2 separate regions of the Homo sapiens genome follow, and region 2 is linked to region 1. The links are contacts of gene promoters, found by promoter capture Hi-C in blood cells and fetal thymus (Javierre and others, 2016). All regions are on one chromosome and are shown on one strand. The core of a region is centred on a gene start or on the middle of the fragment in contact, and the rest is flanking DNA. Distances in the headings are between cores, read along the strand shown.

Region 1 (4,977 bases), core at 1,464-3,963:
GATCTGTAAGTGGAAAAATGCATTCTTTGTTTTTGTGGTCCAACTCAAATTTTCCCTTTAAAAATTCCACAATAGTTAAACTAAAGAATCCCAGAAAACCTACGGCCCACCCCTTTGCACACTCCTCTTTCCTCAAACATTTGCAAAGGCTAAATGTCAGTGTAACATACCTGAGGAGACGCACAATATATTTCACCCAAGTCTGTTTTGGATTTGCGCACACAGACAACTTTTTCTTTGTGTGAAAGCTGAAAAATCAGAAAATTTGATTTGTGTTTAATGAGCTTTTCAATGGGTTTTTCATAGAACATACAATGGAAATTTTATATTCCAGTTGATTACACACTAAACATTTCAGTTGATGAGGTAAAATAAAATGCACAAAAAATGCTTCTGATGAAGATTAATGCAAAATCAAAGTGATTCTCTCTTTCTCTGCAATGTAACAAATAATAGTACAATGGCAGGAAGATAAAGTCCCAGAATTGTCATATAATTTTGCTATTGGTGGTTACATAGAATATGTATGTATCTGATCAATAACTTGTATAATTCCAAAATATAATATCCTATATAAATCAAGAAAATTATATGTGATAGTATAATTAGTCTGAGATTTTACTTTTGGTCTCAAACACTTTCTGGTAGAAGATGCTCATTTCGAAATGTGTATCTTCCCTATTTTCCTAATATATCACTTTAATAGCCTTAGAAAGTGATTTTTGCCCTATACTAGTTCCGTTTGACCAAAAAAAATTTTTAAAAAAGGTTTTGCCTTATTCCAGTCCTGTTTAAAGTGAACTTTAAAGTAGATATGTACTAAGACAAAGCTATCTTTGCCACATCATTTCTTTCTCTTTAAAATAAGATCTTATGTTCAAAACATCAGTAATTTCTGAATGAAACTCTAAAAAGGCAAACATTTTTAAAACTGAAGTTTCTAGGTATTCCTGATACAACTGAATTAAAATCAATTAATAACTTACATGATAGCATTGATGTCACAGCCTTCATTGGCCAGCTGCCGTGTGAAGCCCACAATAAATTTAGGATGAAGAATACGGTCTGTGTATCCAAGACAGCAGTCAAAGTTGCTTGCTGCTAAAAAAAAAAAAAAGTGAAAGGTATTGGATCCACATGAATAAACTTATCCTGTGATTGGTATTATAAAACTACCTTAAGTTGTGAAAAATCTAGTGAATCTCATGTATATGACGAATAAACCACTTAGAGGAGGAGTTTCAATGTCTTGGAAACCTTTGTAAGGTCGTTGAGAACCAATCTAACATAGTTTACAGTTCTTTGAAAAAACAGTTTGTGTGCCGAGAAGTTTTGGTTCAATAATAGAATTGAGAAACACAGGACTTCTCATAAGTGGGATATCTTCAGTAAGAAATACAAATTGACAATATTTCATTTCAGTTCACTATAATCATTCAAGAATATGAGCAGCCCCTTCCCTACTGCTTGAAGGAACCCTTATGTAGATAAACTTCCAAAAGCAGAAAATGAATAAATTGGCAGATTTTAATCTATTATCTGGCTACTAAGTATTGAGAAATAGAGCTACAAAGGGAAATATGATTTATAGGAGTGAAAACACTTTGAAATTGTCCTATTAATTAATAGGAATGTTTAATTTTGTTCATAAAAGTTCAACATGTGGTTGGGCATGGTGGCTCATGCCTGTAATCCCAGCACTTTGGGAGGCCAAGGAGGAAGGATTGCTTGCCTCCAGGAGTTCGAGACCAGCCTGGGCAACACAGTGAAACCCTGTCTCTACAAAAAAAAAAAAAATGTAAAAAAATTAGCCAGGTGAGTGGCACACGGCCGTGGTCCCTGTTATTCAAGAGGCTGAGACTGGAGGTTCACTTGACTCCAGGAGGTTGAGGCTGTAGTGAGCTGTAATCATGCCACTGCACTCTGGCCTGGGTGATGAAGTTAGACCCTGCCTCAGAAAAAAAAAAAAATTCAATGTGCATTTTTAGGAATGCACCTGTTGCTAAAAGTGTTGTGTGACTATTGAGCAATAAAGCAATACTTGGACATTCCCGAGTCAGATTACAACATGCTGTAAGGTAAGGGATTAATGTTATTTTAAAGTTGGCAAGCAATGTCCCCCATGCCTTGTGGGGATGTTGATGTCAGGTATTATAATCTACTTCTAAAGGATGAGTTTTGAACTTTACCAAAACTATTAAGTTGGGAGGTACGAAAGTTGGGGACACAGGAGGATTCTCTACATTTCAAAATGGCCCCATCTACTGGTAACATTACACACTTTATATCACTCCCAGAAACATCACTTTGGCTTTATCCTGAAGTTTAGGGATCTCTAAGAGCCCACCACTCCCCAAATCTGCTGAGATTGACAGCAGAGAGGAAAGCCTGATCCGCAGCAGTAACTCTTCTCTCCTCCACTCCACCATGGGCAGACAACTTCCATCACTACCTCTTGTATACTTCCTAACAGTTTTCCATCCCTTAGGGACCCCCAGTTGAGCTCAAGGCTAAAAGGAAAATGAAAATAGTCTTTCTTCTGTGCTAGCGGAAAGAGCGACACTTACCTTCTGATTCGCCGCAGAGGTGGAGTAGCAGCACTGACATCAAAGCAGCCAGGAGCAAACTCTTGGTACAGCACATGGTTTTTAGCTCAAAGAACAGATCTGCTCAGTGTTGAGTACCCAGTTCTTTGGGAGTGCTGTTATATTCTGACAGCAGCCTGGGATGGCCCTATTTATAGCAAATATTGGGAATGTACACAGAAGGCGTGTTGCCACATGGGGTTTTCCCCATTGATCAACTGGCCCCATCATGTCATCATAAAAAAAACCCGCAAGGAAAACTTCCTGCTTTTTCCTCATATTGGGAAGGTGCGAAGGTCAGGGTGGGGGACAGGAAGTTGAGAAGGGGAGAATCCTGTTAAATTCTTTGTATTTGCAAAGAGCAAAAGCAGCTCAGCCCTGTGACCCAGAAAAGACTTTCATCCAGTTTTAACTTAATCATTTTTGTGTCTGAAAATAGAGGATTAACAGCGATACAAAGGTCAGCCCCACACAGGAACATTCCAGAACTCCTATTGTTACACCCTATTTGCTTTCCAGAACCAGTCAAGGAGGAGGGGGAGGAGGAGCAGGTGGGATGCCAGGCATACTCTGCTACACATTTACCATCACATGGTTGAGGTTCAGCTGTCATGAAGAAGACCCTGAGTTGCTAGACTAACATTCAGAGCAGGTACTATAACAGTGCTACAGTACTGTCCGCAGTTAGAGTGGAAAATATCAGCCTTTAAGTAAGGCTCAAACCTCAGCTTCACCTTGATTTAATGTCAACTCTTCTAAGAATCTTATACATTCACATGGCTTTAATCAATATTGCAGTTCAGAAAATAATCCTTACCTACCTTTAACTCTCCATGATGATGTACTAATATAACTCAATATAGAGCCTCAGAATTGTTGAGGAAAGAAAACCTATCAGCAGTAGCTAGTCAGCACAGCAAATGTCAAATAACAGTACTAATGATGATAATGTAATATGAATCCCTAACCTAAGGCAGTATAAGAACTCTCCACTAGACCCAAATAGGTTGAAAGTAAAAGGATCAAAAGAAAGGTATACCAAACAGTAAACAAAAGAGAACTGGAGTTGGTGATGCCTATATCAGACAAAATAGATTTTTTTTTAATGTTACCGGAAATAAAAAGGGACTTTCATGGTAACACAAAATTAACCCATTGGGAAGATGTAAAACCTATAACCATATATATACCTAACAGTAGCACCCCAAACTACAGAAAGCAAAAACTGACAGAATTGAAGGGAAGAATAGGAAATTTTATTTTATTTTATTATTATAATTTCTTTTGAGACAGAATTTTGCTCTTGTTGCCCAGGCTGGAGTGCAGTGGCACCATCTCGGCTCACTACAACCTCCGCCTCCTGGGTTCAAGCGATTCGCCTGCCTCAGCCTCCTGAGTAGCTGGGACTACAGGCACGTGCCACCACGCCCAGCGAATTTTTGTATTTTTAGTAGAGACGTGGTTTCACCATGTTGCCCAGGCTGAACTCCTGACCTCATTACAGGCATGAGCCACCGTGCCCAGCAGAATAGGAAATTTAACAATAAAAGTTGACAGCTTTGGTACCACATTTTCACTAATTAATAAAATTTAGGCAGAAGATCCACAAGAAAATAGAAGACTTGAACAACACTATAAGCCAAATAGACTTAGCAGGCATCGAAGGACTACTCTATCCAACATCAACAGAATAGTTGCACATGGAATGTTCTCTAGGATAAAGCATATGGTAGGTTATGGAACAAGTCTCAGTAAATGTAAACCGACTGAAATCACATAAAGTATACATTCAAACCACAATGGAATTAAATCAGAAATCAGTAACAGACAGAAAGGAAACCACATATTCCTAAATAACCAATGTGTCTGGCCAGGAGTGGTGGCTCATGCCTGTAATCCTAGCATTTTGGGAGGCCGAGGTGGGTGGACTGCCTGAGGTCAGGAGTTCGAGACCAGACTGGCCAACATAGTGAAACCCTGTCTCTACTAAAAATACAAATATTAGCCGGGTGTGGTAGTCCATGCCTGTAATCCCAGCTACTTGGGAGGCTGAGGCAGGAGAATCGCATGAGCCCAGGAAGCAGAAGTTACGGCGAGCCGAGATCACGCTACTGCCCTCTAACCTGGCCAACAGAGACTCCATCTCAAAGGAAAAAACAACAACAACAACAACAATGTGTCAAAAGAAAAGTCACTAGAGAAAGTAGAAAACAACTTTGAAATGTAAAAAAAAGTCCACAACATATCAAAACTTATAGGATGTAGCAAAAGCAGTCCTCAGAAGGAAACTTATAGCTGTAAACACTCACATTAAAAAAAAAAAAAAAGAAACATCTCAAAACAATAACCCAAACTTCTACCTTAAGAAACTAGAGAAAAGCAGAGCAAGCTA
Region 2 (4,977 bases), core at 1,182-3,681, 2.8 Mb after region 1:
AAGGTAGTCATTGATTAAAAGGATTTTGTTAAGTATATACTAACAGGTAATACTATGATTTGGCAAAAATCAAGATGGTGGGACATGAATAACTGACATTCAGTTAACACTGCTCTAGTATAAAATCCAATTAGAATTACAAAAACTGTACATATTTTGAAGATGGCTTTTCTCCTCTTCTGAATTCACCAATGATTGAAATCATGTCCTTACATTGCTGAGAGGTGGTTTGATGGCCCATGGAGAATAGAAAGTTGTTTGCCATTATCCATGTATATGGGATAACAGTGGTAATCTGCTGTACTTGAAGCATAAAATCACCATTTTGACTCCTAGAGATTTGTAGGGTTTTTGTGGCAGCTGTACTACTCTGATGGAAGTACAAATTCTATCTATCTCATGACAAAAAGGTTTTTTTCCAAAGAGAACATGAGGTCTCATTTCTCAGTTAACTTTCAAATTGCCTCTAATATATCTAATGACCTCTTTTCTAAAATTAGTTTCATGAAGGGGTTGATTGATTTTAGGCTCTTTATAGATTTAATTTAATGTTCATTCTCCATTGTATTATTGCCCAGCATGAGTCAAGACAATCATACTTATGATTAGAGAAATAAAGCAAGGCCTTTGGGGGCCAAGTATAGAACTACCTTATCCCTGAGCTGGGAGGCTGAGCCACACGTGGACTGAATTGCTGATGGACAAACTCTAATGGCTTTTTTAATGCAAAAAATGCATTCTGGAAGCAGGAAGCTGCTGGGAGAGCCTGCTCTGAAATTGCATCAGCACACTCTTCACATCCTTGGTTCTGTCTTAGGAAAACAAATGCTCTCTGAATTATTAAGCCGACATGTGGCTTCATGCCTAGAGCACAGGTGCTTGAGTCAGAAGGATGTCAATTCAAACACAGCTCCCCCATTTCTTAAGGCTAGCTCTGTGGCTCTGGGAAGTTATTTAACCTCTCTGAGCTTCCAGTTTCTCAACTTCAAAATAAGGATGCACTAGTTTCCTAGGGCCACCATAACAAATGAGCATAACTTAAGTGGCTTATGACAACAATAGATATTTATTCTTACAGGCCAGAAGTCCAAAATCAAGTCAGCAGGGCCACACTCCCTCTAAAAGTTCTAGGGGCAAATCCTGCCTTGCCTCCTCCAGTTTCTGGTGGCTCCAAGAATGCCTTGGCCTGTGGCCACACAACTCCAGTCTCTGCCTTCGTCTTCATATGTCTTTCCCACCTTTTCTTCCTTTTCTCTCTGTGTCTTTTCCTCTGCTATCTCATAAGAACACTTTTCATTGGATTTACGGCCAGCTTAAATAATCCAAGAGGATTTCATCTTGAAAGGCTTAACTCATCTGCAAAGAGCCTTTTTCCAAATAAGGTCACATTCATGAGTTCCAGTGATTGGGATATGGGCATATCTTTGGGGGAGCCACTTTGCAACCCACTGCAAGGAATGATCATGATACTTACATCACAGACAAAACGAAACGAGAAAATGCTGAGCACATACGACACAGTCAAGAAATGTTATCATCATTTTATGATAACTATCTCCTTAGTTTGTCATTATCATGTTTATTAACATTTTGATAGACCTAACTACATTTAACATAACAGTGAGCTCTATTATGATTGGACCTGTAGAGCAGATGTAAAACTCCAATTGCCACTGAACAAGTCACACAGAGAAAAGATGGCCTCTTTCCCCAAAGCAGCTTGGGAGTCACTGGCCTTATTTTATCAGTGTAAATGCACATTATGGACTTTAAAGAGACAATATTTCTTGTGGTTTAAGAGATAGGATGGCCATTAGGGATCAGGGATGCTAATGAAACATCAACAATGTTACCTTGTAAAATTTTGAACAAATACTACTATTAGATAAAACTTTTAATTTGAAACTAAAAGAAGTGAAGCGTATGTCTGTGTTTTAGATTTGCCTTTTTTGAACAAAAGGTTCATTCAGTCAAACATGAAGTCAACACACTCAGGAAAGTGTCAGGATTTCCAGATTGTGGGTCTTTCTTCTGATTCGAGTTGCATCAGCCACGGTTCTAAGGAGAATTCTACTCCCAAGATCAGCATTCTAGTGGAATCATAAAAGGTCCCACACCACCATCAGTGAACTTAGGATCTCCATGGGGATGTTTACCCAAAACTCAAACTGAAAAATGTAACCTTCCAGCCAGGCACGGTGGCTTACACCTGTAATCCCAGCACTTTGAGAAGCCGAGGCAGATGCATACTTGAGTCCAGGAGTTCAAGACCAGCCTGGGCAACATGGTGAAATCCTGCCTCTACTAAAAATACAAACATTAGCCAGGTGTGGTGGTACACACATAGTCCCAGCTACTCGGGAGGCTGAGGTGGGAGCATCACTTGAGCTCAGGAAGTCGAAGCTGCAGTGAGCTGAGATCATGCCACTGCACTCCAGCCTGGTGATAAAGTGAGACCCTGTCTCTAAAATAGAATAAAATAAAAATAAAAATGTAACCTTCAAATTCCTTCCCATTCTCAAATAGAGATGGAATTTGTCACTCTCAGAATTTACCCTGGTCATTTCTCGGTTCTTGCTGTCTGCCCCAAGACAGACCACACTGATGTGGTTCATACCAGTTCTGCAGTGTTGAGCGACCAACAACATTCTGTGGGTGACGAGATGCCACCTGCTGGCTTTTTTCTTTCTGCATATGTGGATGTTTACACCTGCCCGATCATGCAAGACAGACCACACTGATGTGGTTCATACCAATTCTGCAGTGTTGAGCATCCAACAACATTCCAGACTGTTTCTGGAAGCTGTGGGTGACGAGATGCCAGCTGCTGGCTTTTTTCTTTCTGCATATGTGGATGTTTACACCTGCCTGCCCATGCAACTAGCTCCTCGTGGCATGGCGTGGCCATTGTCTCACTATGATGAGGAGTCACTGAGACATTTTCTGTCTCCAAATATTCTCATCAGTTAACAGTTAAAGAGAGCTGAAGAGCTGACTAAATCTCAACTACTGAGGCCAAAGAAATGTATGACTTATCTATCAATAAAGGACCCTAAGAGGTGGAATCAGGCTTACATCTATGTAAACTCACTGAGAAAGCCGTGTTGTCATTGCTGTTCTTGGTCTGTGCCTGCTTTTATTCAGCATGCCACTTGGTAATGGAAACTTGAAGAAATGATACTACAAATAAGTGATATTGAGGATGACAGTCTGTTCATTTTTAAAGGGCAAAATGGCAAAAAGGATGCATTTGTCCTTTCAGACCTCTTCTCACAATGGACAGCAGGGGGCAGTGCTAATATAGGGAGAGTTTAGCATCAGGTAAACAAGTGGTATCGGCCTTCAAAAGTCAGATGCCTTCGTGAGCCACATAGCCTTTCACATTTGAAATACTCTAACTCACTTTTCCTCCCAAGTGTCATTTATTCATCCTTCACGGCCCAGGTCAAATAGCTTAGACTCTGAGAAGCCATATGGAATCCCCCTGACTGAATTACGCTCCCTCTCTCTTGGCTATGGGTTGCTTATGTGTGTCGCCTTACCATCTCCCCCCAGATTCACATGTTGAAATCCTAACTCCTTAGACGGTGGTATTAGGAGGTGGGGCCTTATGGAAGATGGTTAGGTCATGAGGGCAGAGCCCTCAGGAGTGGGATTAGTGCCCTTACGAAACAGGCTCAAGGGAGCTCATTTGCTCCTCCTACCATGTGAGGACAAACCAAGGAGATGCCATCTGTGAACCAGGAGGCAGGCCCTCACAGACACCACACCTGCCGACGCCTCGATCATGGACTTCCTGCCTCCAGAACTGTGTGAAATTAATTTTTGTTGTTTATAAACCACCCAGGTTATGGTATTTATTATAGCAGCCTGCATGGACTAAGACACTGCCCTTCCACAGTATTGCAAATAAAACTCTATTATAGAAAGTCTGTTGTATACTGGCCAGGCACAGTGGCTCATACCTGTAATCCCAGCACTTTGGGAGGCTGAGGCGGGTGGATCACAAGGTCAGGAGATCAAGACCATCCTGGCTAACATGGTAAAACCCCATCTCTACTAAATACACAAAAATTAGCCAGGCATGGTGGCGGGCACCTGTAGTCCCAGCTACTTGGGAGGCTGAGGCAGGAGAATGGCGTAAACCCGGGAGGCGGAGCTTGCAGTGAGCTGAGATCAAGCCACTGCACTCCAGCCTGGGTGGCAGAGCGAGACTCCGTCTCAAAAAAAAAAAAAAAAAAGGTCTGTTGTATATTGTTGTGTAGCTCTTTTCATTCATGACTTACCAAAGTCCCGAGCACCTACCTGCTAGTTCATCTATGTACTTACTGATAAATGCATATACCCTGAATGTGGCCAGACTACTGCTACTATTTCTACTATTAGTAGCTAACCAGTCACTTTAAAGTACTGATAAAATATCACTGCCCATAATAATGTTTGGCATCCCACTGTTGACACAAAACAGCACTAAGCCACTTCATAGTTTAACTCCAATTAACACATCATTAGCCAGATTAACACAATAGCTTCTAGTGATTAATTTTTTTTCTTTTTGAGATGGAGTCTCACTCTTGCCTAGGCTACAGTGCAGTGGCACGATCTCGGCTCACTGCAACCTCTGCGTCCTCAGTTCAAGCGATCCTCCTGCCTCAGCCTCCCGAGTAGCTGGGATTACAGGCGTAAGCCACCATGCTCAGCTAATTTTTGTATTTTTAGTACAGACGAGGTTTCACCAGGCCAGACTGGTCTCGAACTCCTGACTCCAAGTGATTCTCCTGTCTCAGGCTCCCAAAGTGCTGGGATTACAGGCATGAGCCACCCGGCCTGATTTTCTTTCTAGTAGTAGCCTATGACCTGTTTCGGGCAACCTTTCTCTGAGGGAAAGACACAGAAGCATGGCTGGCTCGTAGAGTCACTACTGTCAATCCCTTTTTCCCGCCCTACTGTTGGCGTAGACACCTTGGAGACATTGTG

Evidence for each region. The method cuts DNA at HindIII sites, captures the fragments that hold promoters and counts their contacts. A CHiCAGO score of 5 or more calls a contact.
Region 2: a fragment that was not itself captured here is called in contact with the fragment with the promoter of CCL20 in region 1 in 1 of 17 cell types (M0 macrophages); the score reaches 5.5 in M0 macrophages.

The regions. Positions count from the first base shown.
Region 1 is chr2:227,811,578-227,816,554 of GRCh38, reverse strand. It overlaps CCL20 (C-C motif chemokine ligand 20), which reads right to left and starts at 2,713. Exons shown (of 4, transcript NM_004591.3): 1 at 2,568-2,713; 2 at 987-1,101; 3 at 171-248. The coding sequence starts at 2,643. The HindIII fragment of the contact is 16,817 bases long and covers 1-4,977 here.
Region 2 is chr2:225,000,554-225,005,530 of GRCh38, reverse strand. All of the region lies in intron 1 of DOCK10 (dedicator of cytokinesis 10), which reads left to right. Among named protein-coding and RNA genes, the nearest start is that of MIR4439, 7.5 kb to the left of the region's middle. The HindIII fragment of the contact is 6,368 bases long and covers 1-4,977 here.